2 separate regions of the Homo sapiens genome follow, and region 2 is linked to region 1. Evidence: promoter capture Hi-C in 16 types of primary human blood cells and fetal thymus (Javierre and others, 2016). All regions are on one chromosome and are shown on one strand. Each heading gives the region's core, a stretch centred on a gene start or on the middle of the fragment in contact. The rest is flanking DNA. Distances are from core to core; before and after follow the strand shown. Region 1 holds the start of FOXE1 (forkhead box E1). Region 2 overlaps PTCSC2 (papillary thyroid carcinoma susceptibility candidate 2).

Region 1 (7,067 bases), core at 1,376-3,875:
TAATCTCATGATGCTAGGTATTTGGTCTCGGCCACAGGAGTAGCTTGATATTAACAAAGTTTGAGAAAACCATCAGAATTCTAGAAGAATGAGGTCACAGACACAAGACACTGAAGAACAGAAAATCCTGAGACAAGAAGGCTTTTAGCCATAGTCGTTGCAGCTTAAAAGTAGAGGATCATAAAGTCATGGGACTAATCATTACAGCATATAATCACAAACATTAGAAGAATTATTGGAATCAGATTATTTGAACTACAGAATAGCAGATCCAGCACTAACATTTTAGAATTAAGGAAGGAGAGAACTGCGGATTTACAGGATTCAAATTCTTCCAATCAGACATTCCTAAACAGGAATTCAAATTAAATAATATATAACTTAGAGTGGAAAAAATAAAAAACTGGAGAAGTGGCAGCTTCAAGAGTGGCATCATATTTTCAGGCACAAAATCTTAGGTCCCCGTTTTTTGTTTGTTTTGTTTTGCTTTTAAGAGACCGGGTCTCCCTTTGCTGCACAGGCTGGAGTGCTGTGGCTACTCACAGGCACAATGATTGTGCACTACAGCCTGGAACTCCTGGGCTCAAGCGATCTTCCTGCCTTAACCTCCAGTAGCTGGGACTACAGGCTCCCGCCACCGTGCCTGGTTTAGTCCCAGTATCTTAATACATAGGTTTTTAGACTTTGACTAGAAGCTTAAGTCAAAGGAATATAAGCATAGTCAAAGTTAGACTCCCAGTCTTGGAATCTTAGAATTACAGGGTCGCAGGATCGCAGGATCGCATTCTTTAGATTTATGGAATCACGTTAGGACAACGGTCGTCCAGAATTTAAAATCTAGATATCTGAATCTCAGAATCTTGAAAGTTACTGAGAGCCACGAAATCCCGTATTAAAAGGTGCCTATAATATAATCCAGTTAAAAATTTTAAAATTTGAAGTTTTTCCTCCTTTGTAAAAACGAAACAGGACGAAATCTGGGTTTTTTGCTTCTCCATTACTTGGGAAGAAGGAAACCAGGAGTTTTGTTTAGCGAGTGTAAAGCCCCTCTCCCTTCGTTCGACCAACCCTCTGCCGCAGAAGGTTGTCAAGCAAACGCTTTGAGCGTTTCCACACACCGGGTCGACGGAGCAAGGATCTGGGCTTTGCCTCGCTCTTCCGAAGGCAGCTGCCCAACGCTTGGCCGGGCTTAGCCTGCCCTCAGCTCACCGCCACGAAGAACGCGACTAAAACCCTGGAAGGCATGCCACCCGTTACTGGCCAGAACTCTCGTCTTGGGATCTCCCACACTCACCTGGCACCACCATCCGCGCGGCTCTGCACCCACAGCCCCGGCCCGCCCCCCCCCCCCACCCCGGAAAGCTGCGTCCGGGCTGGAGCCACTGGAACCCGCGCCAAGGCCCGGAATCCTATACGTAGCAGGGGCCTCGGAGATCAGCACACGCCCTCCAGCTGCTATTTAACAGAGTAGAACACTGAGGCCCTGCGAGGGGACAAGGACAGGCCCTGGATCTCCCAGTGAATGGCCAGGGAACGAACCCGGGCCAGAGGGGCCGCGCCGCGAGGATCTCAGGTTAGGACCAAGTTCCGGCTCAGGGACAGCAGGAAAGGAACTCAGAAATTGGACACCCATGAAGCAAACGTGTCCCGACTGCCCGCCCCTTCCCCCGGAGACGCGCCCACCCGGCCACCGCTCTCTTCCCACTCCCCCATTACCCGCAGCCCTCACTCCCCGCTGCGGGAAGGGGCTGCTTGGCTGCCTCTGGGGGTCTTCAGAGCTACCCTGGTCCCGGGGGATTGGAGGAGGAGGTTACCTATCCTGCGTCGTCTTTAATCCGTGCACCACTATCCATCAAATAGAGACAGATCCTGGGCCTCTCAAAGACGGATGATTGGGGGTGGTGATTGGCCTATCCCTAAATATCTACCACGCAAGGACTCTTGAGAGATCCAGACCCCGGTACAGTCGAGGGACCTGGGGCCCAAAAAGGGAAAGCGGCTACCTCTACCACACAGTTGGGAAGCGCAGTCCTAAAGGAGACGCAGGTTGGAGACTCCGCTAAGCGGAGAAGCCGCAGTGGGGCCATGGCAAGTCACCTTCCCTTTCGGGCCTAGGAATACTCATTCGAAAGATGGGGGGACTGGAGTGCCGAGTGGCTGTGGCAGCCACGATTGGGGTTTGGAAACCATCCTGAAAGGCCCGGGGAGCCAGTCTCCTGGAACTTCTCCCTCCCCATTCCCACAAAAACCAAGCGCCCTCTCGGCCAATTCTCACCCTCTCAGGACAAAAAAGTGAGATGAGCCCGTCCTTTCACCTGCGAGTCCAAGCCCTTGGCAGAGGCCTGAAAAGTCCGAAAACTCCGAGTTCGGGCGCTGAGGTCTCCCGAGCCGGTTCCTGAACTCTCCGGGCCTCAGTCGATCGGGGTGCGGAGGGGGCCGACCCGGGGGATCTCCAAGCGCCCTCCCCGCCCTGACGCTGTGGGGCTCCTACCGCGCCGCCACAGCTGCTCCTACCTGGGGAGGTGCGCCCGGGCCCCGGGGGGCGGGCAGTCGGGGGGCGGGCAGGGAACCGGTGCCGCCCCACGCTTCGTGGCCCCTTTAAGGAGGGGAAGCCGGCGGAGGGAGGAGCCGGTCCGGTGTGTGCAGGGGAGCGCCTCGCCAGCGGTCCGCAGGGCTGGAGACCCACGCCGTGGAGAGGACCAGCCTCAGGTCGCCCCGCCTGGGCCCGCGCCCCGACCTCGCTGCCCCCGCCTCGCCTCTCTGCCCGTGGCGCTTACGGCCACCTTGGCCTCGGGGGCAGGGCATGGGCGGCCCCCGCCAGATCGCCCAGCGCCAGTACTAACTGCCCTCGCTCTGGCCTTCGAGCCCGAAGCCTCTTCTGCGCGCACAACCTAGGCAGTAATCCTAAACTAGCGGGCACCACAGACCAGCTGCAGCCACCCCAACCCAGGGATCACTTCCGGACCCCTCGACCGCCCGGCACCAGCGCGCAAGGGACCCTTCAGCCGGAGACCAGAGTCCAGTCCCGGTCACGAGGCCACCGCCGCTGCCCGCCTCGAGAAGCACCACGCGGGCTGAGCCGTCGGCTAGCGGGTCACTCCCGAGCCTCTGTCTGCACCGCGCCAGCCCCAGACCACGGACGCTGAGCCTCCAGCGCGTGCCAGCCTGGGCCGCTGGGCTCTCGGGGCCAGCCCGCGACGATCCCCTGAGCTCTCCGCAGAAGGGCCGAGCGTCCGTTCCGGGGACGCCAGGCCCGCCCCCGCCCCCCGACAGCCGCGGGGATCCAGAGCCCGGGGGTGCGGGACGCCCGCGCCATGACTGCCGAGAGCGGGCCGCCGCCGCCGCAGCCGGAGGTGCTGGCTACCGTGAAGGAAGAGCGCGGCGAGACGGCAGCAGGGGCCGGGGTCCCAGGGGAGGCCACGGGCCGCGGGGCGGGCGGGCGGCGCCGCAAGCGCCCCCTGCAGCGCGGGAAGCCGCCCTACAGCTACATCGCGCTCATCGCCATGGCCATCGCGCACGCGCCCGAGCGCCGCCTCACGCTGGGCGGCATCTACAAGTTCATCACCGAGCGCTTCCCCTTCTACCGCGACAACCCCAAAAAGTGGCAGAACAGCATCCGCCACAACCTCACACTCAACGACTGCTTCCTCAAGATCCCGCGCGAGGCCGGCCGCCCGGGTAAGGGCAACTACTGGGCGCTTGACCCCAACGCGGAGGACATGTTCGAGAGCGGCAGCTTCCTGCGCCGCCGCAAGCGCTTCAAGCGCTCGGACCTCTCCACCTACCCGGCTTACATGCACGACGCGGCGGCTGCCGCAGCCGCCGCCGCCGCCGCCGCCGCCGCCGCCGCCATCTTCCCAGGCGCGGTGCCCGCCGCGCGCCCCCCCTACCCGGGCGCCGTCTATGCAGGCTACGCGCCGCCGTCGCTGGCCGCGCCGCCTCCAGTCTACTACCCCGCGGCGTCGCCCGGCCCTTGCCGCGTCTTCGGCCTGGTTCCTGAGCGGCCGCTCAGCCCAGAGCTGGGGCCCGCACCGTCGGGGCCCGGCGGCTCTTGCGCCTTTGCCTCCGCCGGCGCCCCCGCTACCACCACCGGCTACCAGCCCGCAGGCTGCACCGGGGCCCGGCCGGCCAACCCCTCCGCCTATGCGGCTGCCTACGCGGGCCCCGACGGCGCGTACCCGCAGGGCGCCGGCAGTGCGATCTTTGCCGCTGCTGGCCGCCTGGCGGGACCCGCTTCGCCCCCAGCGGGCGGCAGCAGTGGCGGCGTGGAGACCACGGTGGACTTCTACGGGCGCACGTCGCCCGGCCAGTTCGGAGCGCTGGGAGCCTGCTACAACCCTGGCGGGCAGCTCGGAGGGGCCAGTGCAGGCGCCTACCATGCTCGCCATGCTGCCGCTTATCCCGGTGGGATAGATCGGTTCGTGTCCGCCATGTGAGCCAGCGTAGGGACGAAAACTCATAGACACATCGGCTGTTCACACGTTCCCCGCAATCTGAGAACGAACAGGAATGGAGAGAGGACTCAACTGGGACCCACGTGGAAAAGACCGAGCAGGCCACAGAGGCTCGGTCTCCCCGCGCACAGCGTAGGCACCCGGTGTACTCTGTAAACGGGAGGAGGTGGGGCGAGGCAGCCAGAGCCCTTGGACTGGCACAGGGACCCTCGATGGAGCGAAGCCCTCAAACGGGATGCTTTCTGGTATTCTATCGGGGAGGGTCCTTGGCGGTAACCAGAGGGCAGCGTAGTGTCAACACCAGAGACCAGGATCCAAATTGTGGGGAATCAGTTTCAGCCTTCCATGTGCTGCCGGAACTCGGGCCTTTTTACGCGGTTCGTCCTCTAGTGCCTTTAACTGCGTTACTACAATAAAAGGCTGCGGCAGCGCCTTTCTTCTTAAAGTGAGGAGGACAAATTTGCAAAAGAAATAGGCTTTTCTTCTTTTTTAAATTGGAGAAATCTCTGCTCTGGTTGACCTGGGCTGGTTTTCCCTGTCTCTGAGAACTTGAGACCTAGCTCCGAGTTGAACTGTGCGTCAGCACTCCAGTCCCATCACCTGAACCTTCAGTCTCCCCCATCTGTTACACTAGAGGGCTGCAGGACTCTATCCACCGCCCCCGGGTTATCATTCAGGGCCCCATCATCTTGGATGCTGCCCTGCGTATTTGGCAGCAATGGTGGGCCACCCAGGGCCTCTGAGTAGCCACCCAAAGCCTAGCCGCTGTTCTAGGGAACGGAAAAGAGTTCATGGCCAAGCGTCTAACCTAAAGTCCCAGGATTGGCTCCAGGCAGCAATTATATCATAACTTATTGAACTTTTGAGCAGGACGTGCTGGTAATTTCATGGCTGTTACTGCCCAGTCATAAATCTGCTTTTCCATTATAAGGCAGAGAGAAGTACATTCGTTCATTTGTCCACTGTTTCTTGTCATCACGCAGCCCTGGACCCAAAGGGTGAACTAAAGTTTAAGGAGATGAGAGGATTCAAGGAGCCCGTTGGTGACGCCTTTCAGTAGCTGGGGAGGGCTCTTCCATCCCCAGCACCCCCTGCTACACCTCAGCAGCCTCCCCCATGCAAAAAGGAAAGAGAAAAATTAAGTTAGGGCAGTCAGTAAAGTGAGCTTTAGAAAGAAACTGGAATTTTAACTTCATTTTGTATCTTGCTTAAGTAGCAGGCTCACTAAAATTAGAGAAAGTCCAATAACTCTCCCCCTTTCCCTTGAGAAATCTTTAAGTTTCGATTCTGGAGCAAAAACTTTCAGCATTAAATATTTCAGAGGCTCCATTCACAGCTTTCAGATAAACTGGAGTGTTCAGATGGACTGTTTTAATAAAAATCTTTGAGCAAGTGAGTTATGGCAAGAGAAACTCAGCCTCTTTCTGTATAAACTTAACAGGGAAGGGCTGGGGTGTGAAAAAGAAGATTGTATGAAAACCATTGGTAATTTTTATTTTTTATTTTTGGGACTGCACTATCCTGTTCACGAAGACATGTGAACTTGGTTCAGTCCAAATGGGGATTTGTATAAACCAGTGCTCTCCATTAGAAATATGGTGCAAGCCACATATGTAATTTTAAATATTCTAGTAGCCACATTAATAAAGTAAAAAGAAACAGGTGAGGTTAATTTGAATGATATACTTAACCCAACATATCAAAAATATTATGATTTCAACATATAATCAATGTAAAAATTGAGATGTTTTGCTCTCCTTTTACATGAAGGGTTTACAATTTGGAGTGTGTTTTACACTTACAGCTTCTCTAAATGTGGACTAGTCACCTGCTAGGTGTTCAGTAGCAACACTGTGTTGTGCAGTGCAGGTCTAGGTGCTGGCCCTTCCTGGCTTTGGTGGTGGTACCTGGAAGCACTTGAGCGCTGACCCTGCCACCCGTCGGCCCAAATTCCAGACCCAGCCTTGTGACCTTGAAGAGTGCAGGTATTGGGCCGCCCTCCTCTCCCTAAGAATCTTTGCAGGTATGGAGTTCAAGGGTTCTCCTTCATTCAGCTAGACAAGCTGGCTGTCCCAGGTGCAGAGGTCAGGATGACTTGCCTGGTTGAGAAGAATGGGAAAGTAAGAGTTCTCCACCCAGGAGTTTTGTTCTGGGCTGCAGAAGAGCCCAGGCGTGGGACTGGGGCTGGAGAAGGCTGGTTTTTGCCCTTAGTGCCAGAGTTGAGGCTTTCTCTGTTTCCTAATGAGCAAGTCCAGTGCTTTGACAGCACCACTAATCTTAAGCCAGTCCCTTCTCCTCTCGGGTCGTCATTTGTGAAATGGGAATTTGTGACTGCTACCTCAGATAATTTTCCTGAAGTTAAACGAGAGGAGAGGTGAAAAGCGCTTTGTAAACTGCAAAGCGCAGAGCATAGCAGGGCTGAAAGGCTTTAAATAAGCGCTGCCTTGTAACAAAGCCTCCTGGAGTGTCATGATAAAGCCCCGGGAAGGAGAAAGACAGGGTGGGAAAGAGCGGACATTTTCGTCCCCCATTCTACTTGTCAACTTGCGGGACAGGTAAGATTGTGCCAAAGGCGAGGGTCAGCATCAGGAGAGAGAGGACGCTGCGGGGAGG
Region 2 (7,067 bases), core at 2,675-5,174, 100 kb before region 1:
CATCAGTAGAAAAAATAAAATCAGGTAAAAATGAGAGAAAGAAAATTATACAATAAGCAAGTTATATAATAAGCACCTATATTGTTATTATTGCACTTAAGTTTTACCTTGAGCCTCCAGACAGCTGAGGCAAAACGAAAATCAGGGCGGATGATATAATTTTCACTTTCTGATAAAAAGGAATCAGTTTTGCTTTTCAAGAAACACACATCTTTCCTTTATGTTGTATTCTAGGAATAACTGAGCAAGTATGTCTTCACACAGTGGACACTGAACAAGGCAGGAGATAAAATGCTCAACAGTGACTCAGACAAGATCTAGGGCTATCCTCACGTGGAGGGTTCTCATGTTATCCCTTCATAAACACTACAGCCCAATAAAGAAACACAGTTCAGCATCCTGACCACCCAGACTGGCACCCAGGAATAAGCCCTCACACGGACAGAGTACACCAGGGTTCACAAAGTGCTTTCACATCTGCCATCCTACATATGTTCAAACAGCCAGTCAGGGCAGACAGTGTAATCTGCGTTTTACAGATGCGAGAACTGAGGCTCATATTCTGGAGATTGTCCCAAGGTCACACAGCTGGTGAGTGGCAGGGCTGGGGTTCCCTGAGGCTCCAAGAACAGGTCTCCCAGGCGTGCTGCCTGGGAGTGAAATCCAAATGCCTCCTGTTTTTCTACAGGAATTTCATACACATCTGTCTTATCTCTCCAAGCACACTGAGCCTTTGCAGGCAGGGTCTTTTCTCCCATGTTTTAGGAAGCCTTGGTTATCTGCCCAGGGCTGGTAGGTGAAAGATATCCTGCCATGTGTCAGGCCCTGCCCAGGAGAGACACCCCATGCTCCATCTGGTCCTTTAGGTCAGGTCCCAAGCTATCTGAGAACAGTGGCCTAAAGGAGAGGAGTTGAGGAAGGGGGTTAGGGAGCAGACCCAGCACTGTCCAATAAGATCCAAGGAGAGAGGGCAACGCCCCTGCCAGCTAAAGGTGTGGCCAGGGTGCTGTCCGACCCACAGTGCTGACTGGTCTCTAGTTGCTGGGAAAAGAGAGACCTCCAGGGAAGTGGATTTGTCCTTCCTGTATCCCACCCTTCCCAATCAGTGGTTGAAGGGGTTGGAGACACTTTCTCAACTGAGGCACTGGAGGAGAAGGAGAAGGGGGGACTGAATGCTTCTGCTTCTCCCACTTTCTTCCTACTCCTGCCCCTTTGCGCCCTTCTCCCTAATTCATCCTGTTCCTCTTCTCTCATCCCCTTCCAACCTCCCCTCCATTCCTCTGGAGGTACTCGTTTTCCACCTCCCTCCATCCCTACCTGCTCTGTTTATTTCTTCCTCCCTCTTTCCTCTTCACCCACTAGATGTGCAAACACTTGCAAGTTTCTTAACCTCTCTGAGTGAAAGCCCTAACCTCACAAGGTGGTTGTAAAGCTCAGTGGTCAGCATAGAGAAAATGCCCAATCCAAGCGTGTTCTACTCACTCACTCCCATTTCTTCCAGATGGGAAGGAGGACAGATAGGGGCACCACATTAACTCCCTTCCTCACCACCGCAGAGCTCCCGCATACCAACTGTGCCCCAACCAGTGGAGAAAGCCTAGGGTCACAATGGACCTCCTCTTCCACCTTAGGAGACAGACCATGGCCCAGGATGTCAAGCTACATCCAGCAGGGCTATCGGGTGACATATAATGATGGATGATGATCTCTAAGAGGGAGTGGGAATCATGATTTACCATACACCTGCCATGTGCCAGGCATAGGCTGAGCATTCTACATATATGGTCTTTATGAGAGCCCTACGAAGCAGGTGCTATTTTAGTAACCCTGTTTAACAGATGAGTAAAGAGGTTTAGAGAGATGAAAGTCAGGGAGTGACCTTCCCTGGGTCACATAAATATTAGGTGGTGAAGGCAGGTCAGTCTGACTAAGTGACATGCTCTTTGATTTAACTTTTTTTTTTTTGTCTGGCTCTGTCCCCCAGGCTGGAGTGCAGTGGCATAATCTCTGCTCACTGCAGCCTCTGCCTCCCAGGTTCAGGCAATTCTCCTGTCTCAGCCTCTGGAGTAGCTGGGACAACAAGCATGAACCACCACACCCGGCTAATTTTTGTATTTTTAGTAGAGATGGGGTTTCACCATATTGGTCAGGCTGGTCTCAAACATCTGACTCAGGTGATCCACCCACCTCGGCCTCCCAAAATGCTGGGATTACAGGTGTGAGCCACCGCACCCAGCCGATTTAACTTTTTATTATGGGAAAATTAAGCATATAGAAGATTAGACAGAATAGTGTAACCAACCCTCACTCACCTGTCACCCAGCTTCATTGATCAGCTCTTGGCCAGTCTTATTTCATCCTAATCCACATCCATTTCACCCTTTCCTTATTTTGAAGCATATCTCAGACATCATATAGTTTTGTCCATAAATACTTCAGTATGTGCCTTTACAAGACAAAGCCAATTTTAAAAACGTAACTAAAATACCATTGTTGTGCCTTAAAACTTTGTAAAATTTCTTAAGATTACCAAATAACAAGGCAGCACATTTAATTCACATTTCCAATCATTGTTCTACTCTCCCCTGCTGCCTCTTTTAATAAAGATAATAATACCTCTTCCACTGCAAAGCCCTTCCACACACATTATCTTATCTAATGCTCATTATCTGCCCTTGGCCCTACACAGGGTTGGACTTTCTTCATTCCGGAAATGTGAGAAAGTCTTTCTAGAAAGGCTCAGAGAAGTGAATGGACTCACCCAAGGTTACACAGTAGGTTAGGGGCAGAGTCCCTAACCTCCTGTCTCCCAGCCCTTGCCTCTGTTCACCTTAGGGGCCTCCCAATGGGAGGTTTCATCTGTCAAGCACAGAGGCCAAGGCAGTGATGGGGGGTGTCCTGGAGGAGCAGGATGAGAGACTCTCCCTGCAGTGGTGGCAGCCTGGACAGTGCATGTTCTCAGCTGGAGAGCTACAGCCAAGCCTCTTTCTCTTAATAACAACAGTACTAATTCCCTGGCACAGGCTTGTTTGTGTGCAGTAGCTCCCCAAAGCCTAGGCCGTGGCTGGGGCTTATCATCTGGCCTCCCGAGTGGCATGCCTTAAGCCCCCTGCACTAGGGCAGATTGGATACTGAAGCCCAAAAGGAAGGCACAATAACCACATCACTCAGTCAGCCCCATTCTAATTCTGCTTTTCACCTAAGTACAGAAGGAGGGCAAAGGTTGCTCTGTTTTTCTTCTGGGAACCTCCTTGCCTAGCCAGCCCCACACATGCAGAGAATGCCAAGGATTCCATTCTAAATCCCCTGGCTTTTATGGCTAATTCTTCCATTAGTCTGCAAGCTATAGAGCAAACCCTTCAGCCTGGCATTCAAGGCCTGCAGTCTGCCCAACACCACCGAGGTAACCTATCACAGATAGCAAAGAGACCATGGTGCAATTTCAGGGAAAACAAAAAAGCTTTATACAAGCTAATTACTGGAGTTGTCCAGTTAGAGCTTCACTTCCTTAGCTTTTGAATGTGTTGTCTGTCTAAATGCAAACAATGTCGCCACCAATGGTGTCCATTACATCTTCTTCCATACCTCAAATTTAAAGTCCTAATAATACTGCTTGCTACTCATTTGCACAGATGGACTGTGACATTTCATTTTTCTTTGACTTTCCTCATGCTGTTTCCTCTGCCTGGAAACTTATTTCTTCCTTCTTCATCCACTAACTACCAGGTGTATCTCAGAACTCAGCAGAGACATCACCTCCTCCCGGGAAGATTCCTAAATGTCTCCTTCCCCTCATCAGCCTTTCCACTCCCTACATTGGGTGAAGGTCCCTTTCATGGGCTTATCTTTATCTTAGCACTTACTTCAGTGTACCAAACTCAGCAGCTTGTGAGCCTTCAAGGGCAGGGATCATGTGTTGTTCATCTCAGTCTCCCCCAGGCCTAAATACAAGGCGTGGCACATACTAGGATCTCAACTTAATGTGCTCGTTGAAATACTTTATCTCCCTGAACCTTCACAACAGCCCTGTGGGTCAGGCTGCCCAGGAGTCGTGATGCCTCTCATTTTATGGATGTGGAGGCTAAGACAAAGAGGGGTGAGTGACATGTCCCAGGCTCCATGCTGAGAGGGAAGCCAGCATCTCACTAATGCCTCCTGGTCTACCTGCCACCCACTTGGACCAGCCCTGGATGCCCAGGTCAGAGGATGTGTGACAAAGTGGAGCAGAAGGCAGGGCCTCCAGGCACATGCAGCACAATCCCTGTTGCCCCAGGGTAAAGCCCAAATTCCTCCTCCTGGCATAATGACCTTCCCAAGGCCATCTCTCCAGGCTCATCCTTTAAACTCCTTCTCAGATACCCCTGTTGAGCCACACCTGCTTATCCACCTAAGCTTTAAGGGCCTGGGCTCACCTGAGTTTTAAGAACCCTGTACTTGGTGCCTAAACTGTGTCCCCATTGCACCCTGGGACTTCACAATCAATTCAACTGGATGAAGAGGCAGAACAGATGTTCACTGAAGTCTTGCAACGTCAGAGTAAAAAAACAGCAGTGTTTGGAACACACAGATGGCTCAGCCCTTCCCAAACTGTGTTTGTGGAATACTACAATCCTGAGAGATGCTTATAGCTATTCCTCCCACAAAAAACCCCATGGGCAATACATAATAACAATGCCCATAGCATCTTACATGCAATGTTGTCTTTCATCCTGATAATATCCCTAAAAGGCAGGGTCCATATTTTCCTCTGAACTGTGAGGAAACTGCAGCTCACAGAGGCTAATGAACTTCCCTGTGGTTGCACAGCTAGGCAGTAGTGCAACCAGGATTCCAAACTCATCTTGTGCATTTTGCCACTTTGCAAGTCTACCTTTCTGTCTACTGCATTGTTCCTCGAGGAAATTCAAAATGTCATTAGCATGCTGAACATCCTGAGGATTCTTGTCTAAATTTAACTAAGCATTGGCCAGGTGCGGTGGCTCACGCCTGTAATCCCAGCACTTTGGAAGACCAAGGCAGGTGGATCACAAGGTCAGGAGTTTGAGACCAGCTTGACCAATATGGTGAAACCCCATCTCTACTACAAATACAAAAAATAGCTGTGTGTGGTGGCGGGTACCTGCAATCCCAGCTGCCTGGGAGGCTGAGGCAGGAGAATTGCTCAAACCTGGGAGACAGAGGTTGCAGTGAGCGGAGATCACTCCACCGCACTCCAGCCTGGGTGACAGAGCGAGACTCCATTAAAAAAAAAAAAAGTAAGCATCTTCCACACTTATTTGAGGCTGGAACAACTCCCTTCCCACCACTACTTTTTGTTTGCTGAATCCTATTCCTGTCCCACAGAATACAAATGTTTCACTGAACACAGTTTGTGAAGTGCTGCCCTGAAAAATATCAGCTCTTGTCCTGACAACCTGAGAGCACAGGATGGAGGCCGTGAAGGAAGCCTGGAGACCTCTGTGCAGAGCCTCTTTGTTGTACATGTGAGGTTCTGAGACCCAGAGAGTAGCAGGTGTTCTCAGGTTGCACAGCCAAGGAGGGGAGGCACCATGGCCAAGAACGGCCTTTTCACTCCAGGCAGGCTGGCAGGGCTGGCATTTTGGAAAGCTCTCAGCAGACAGAATTCACACACCTTCCTGTAGAGGCCGCACAGGATTCAAGAGATGGAAACTGCTGGAAGGAGCACTGTCTTATTGAAAGTAATCTCAAGATCCCAGGACCACAAAGCTAGATGTTTCACATCAGTCTAATTCCCCCAACACACAGGCCTAGAGAGGAGAAGGACTTATTCAAGGCCACAAAGCAAGTTCAAAGCACAGCTGGAACTAGAATCCAAGTGTCCTGCCCCCTGCCTCCAGCTCCAAGGCTCTGTCTGGCCTTTCCTGCAGTTGTTGATATGTCTGTCTGTCTTCTCAGCCTGGCCAGAGGCCCTTTGAGAGCAAGGTTCATGCTTGGCTTCCCAGCTCCCAGCACTTAGGACTAAAGAAATATTGGTAAGTGAAGGAAGGCAGGGCCTGGTGGCTCAGACCTATAATCCCAGCACTTCGGGAGGCTGAGGCAGGAGAATCACTTGAGGTCAGGAGTTCTACATAGCCTGAGCAACATAGCATGATCCCATCTCCAAAATAATAATAATAATAATAATAATTAACCGGACGTGGTGGTGCGTGCCTGCAGTTCCAGCTACTTGGGAGGCTGAGGCAGGAGGATCACTTGAGCCCAGGAGTTTTGAGTTACAGTGAGCTGATCACATCGCTGCATTGCAGCCTGGGAAACAGAGCAAGATTCTGTCTCAACAACAACAACAAAAAAGGTGGGGGGGGGGAAATGAATACATAAAATATTTGATTTTTACCAAAAACCCTCTTTCTCAGCTTGATCATTTACAGGGCTGGGATTATCTTTTGGCTACTTCCAAAAATGATTGCACCCTCAAAGGATAAATATTTGCTACCAAAAAGTAACAGCAACACTTATATTGTGCTTAATATATATGTGTGTATACACACACATACACATGGCTGGTATGAGGAGTATGGCAGTAAACATGACAGATTCTGTCCCTACTGTTCATGCCTTCATAAAGCTTACATTCTGGTAAAACAGATCATCATTAAACAATTTATTTCCCAATTAATTAGCCAATTAAAATGGTGGTAATTGCTACAAAATAGCAGTAAACTGCACTGTGATTAGCTTAATCAGAATCGAAAGTGCTAATCTGCTGAAGGTCTTAAAAGCTGTCATTAAAAGAAACTTTTCCATAGCTCCATACAGCAGTTGTAAAAAGAAAGCAGACAGAAAGAAGTTCTTATTTATCTGAGGAAAATTAAAAGAAATTCTTAATCAACACATATTCCTGCAAAACAGGACTCCTTACAAGCAAATTAGAGAGAAGATATTCAAGAGATATTCAGCAAGAATACCTTCTGAGCACCCACTGTACCATGGAACCTGATGGTAGCTATCCCAACAATACCATTAAGTAGGAGTTATTACCGTAGTTAAAGAGGAGAAACCAAAGGGTCAGAGAGGCTAACCAATTCTTCAAAGTTCAGCCATGCAGC

What was found. Contacts are between HindIII fragments. The CHiCAGO score rates a contact against its expected background, and 5 or more counts as called.
Region 2: a contact is called between a fragment that was not itself captured here and the fragment with the promoter of FOXE1 in region 1, in 1 of 17 cell types (endothelial precursors). The highest score is 6.1, in endothelial precursors.

What each region holds. Positions count from the first base shown.
Region 1 is chr9:97,850,601-97,857,667 of GRCh38, forward strand. FOXE1 (forkhead box E1) reads left to right here and starts at 2,626. Exons shown (of 1, transcript NM_004473.4): 1 at 2,626-6,117. The coding sequence starts at 3,315. The coding sequence ends at 4,436. It overlaps PTCSC2 (papillary thyroid carcinoma susceptibility candidate 2), which reads right to left and starts at 2,480. Exons shown (of 11, transcript NR_147055.1): 1 at 2,316-2,480. RefSeq lists an enhancer at 1,093-1,594. The HindIII fragment of the contact is 6,931 bases long and covers 694-7,067 here.
Region 2 is chr9:97,744,520-97,751,586 of GRCh38, forward strand. All of the region lies in intron 5 of PTCSC2 (papillary thyroid carcinoma susceptibility candidate 2), which reads right to left. Among named protein-coding and RNA genes, the nearest start is that of XPA, 51 kb to the left of the region's middle. The HindIII fragment of the contact is 932 bases long and covers 3,459-4,390 here.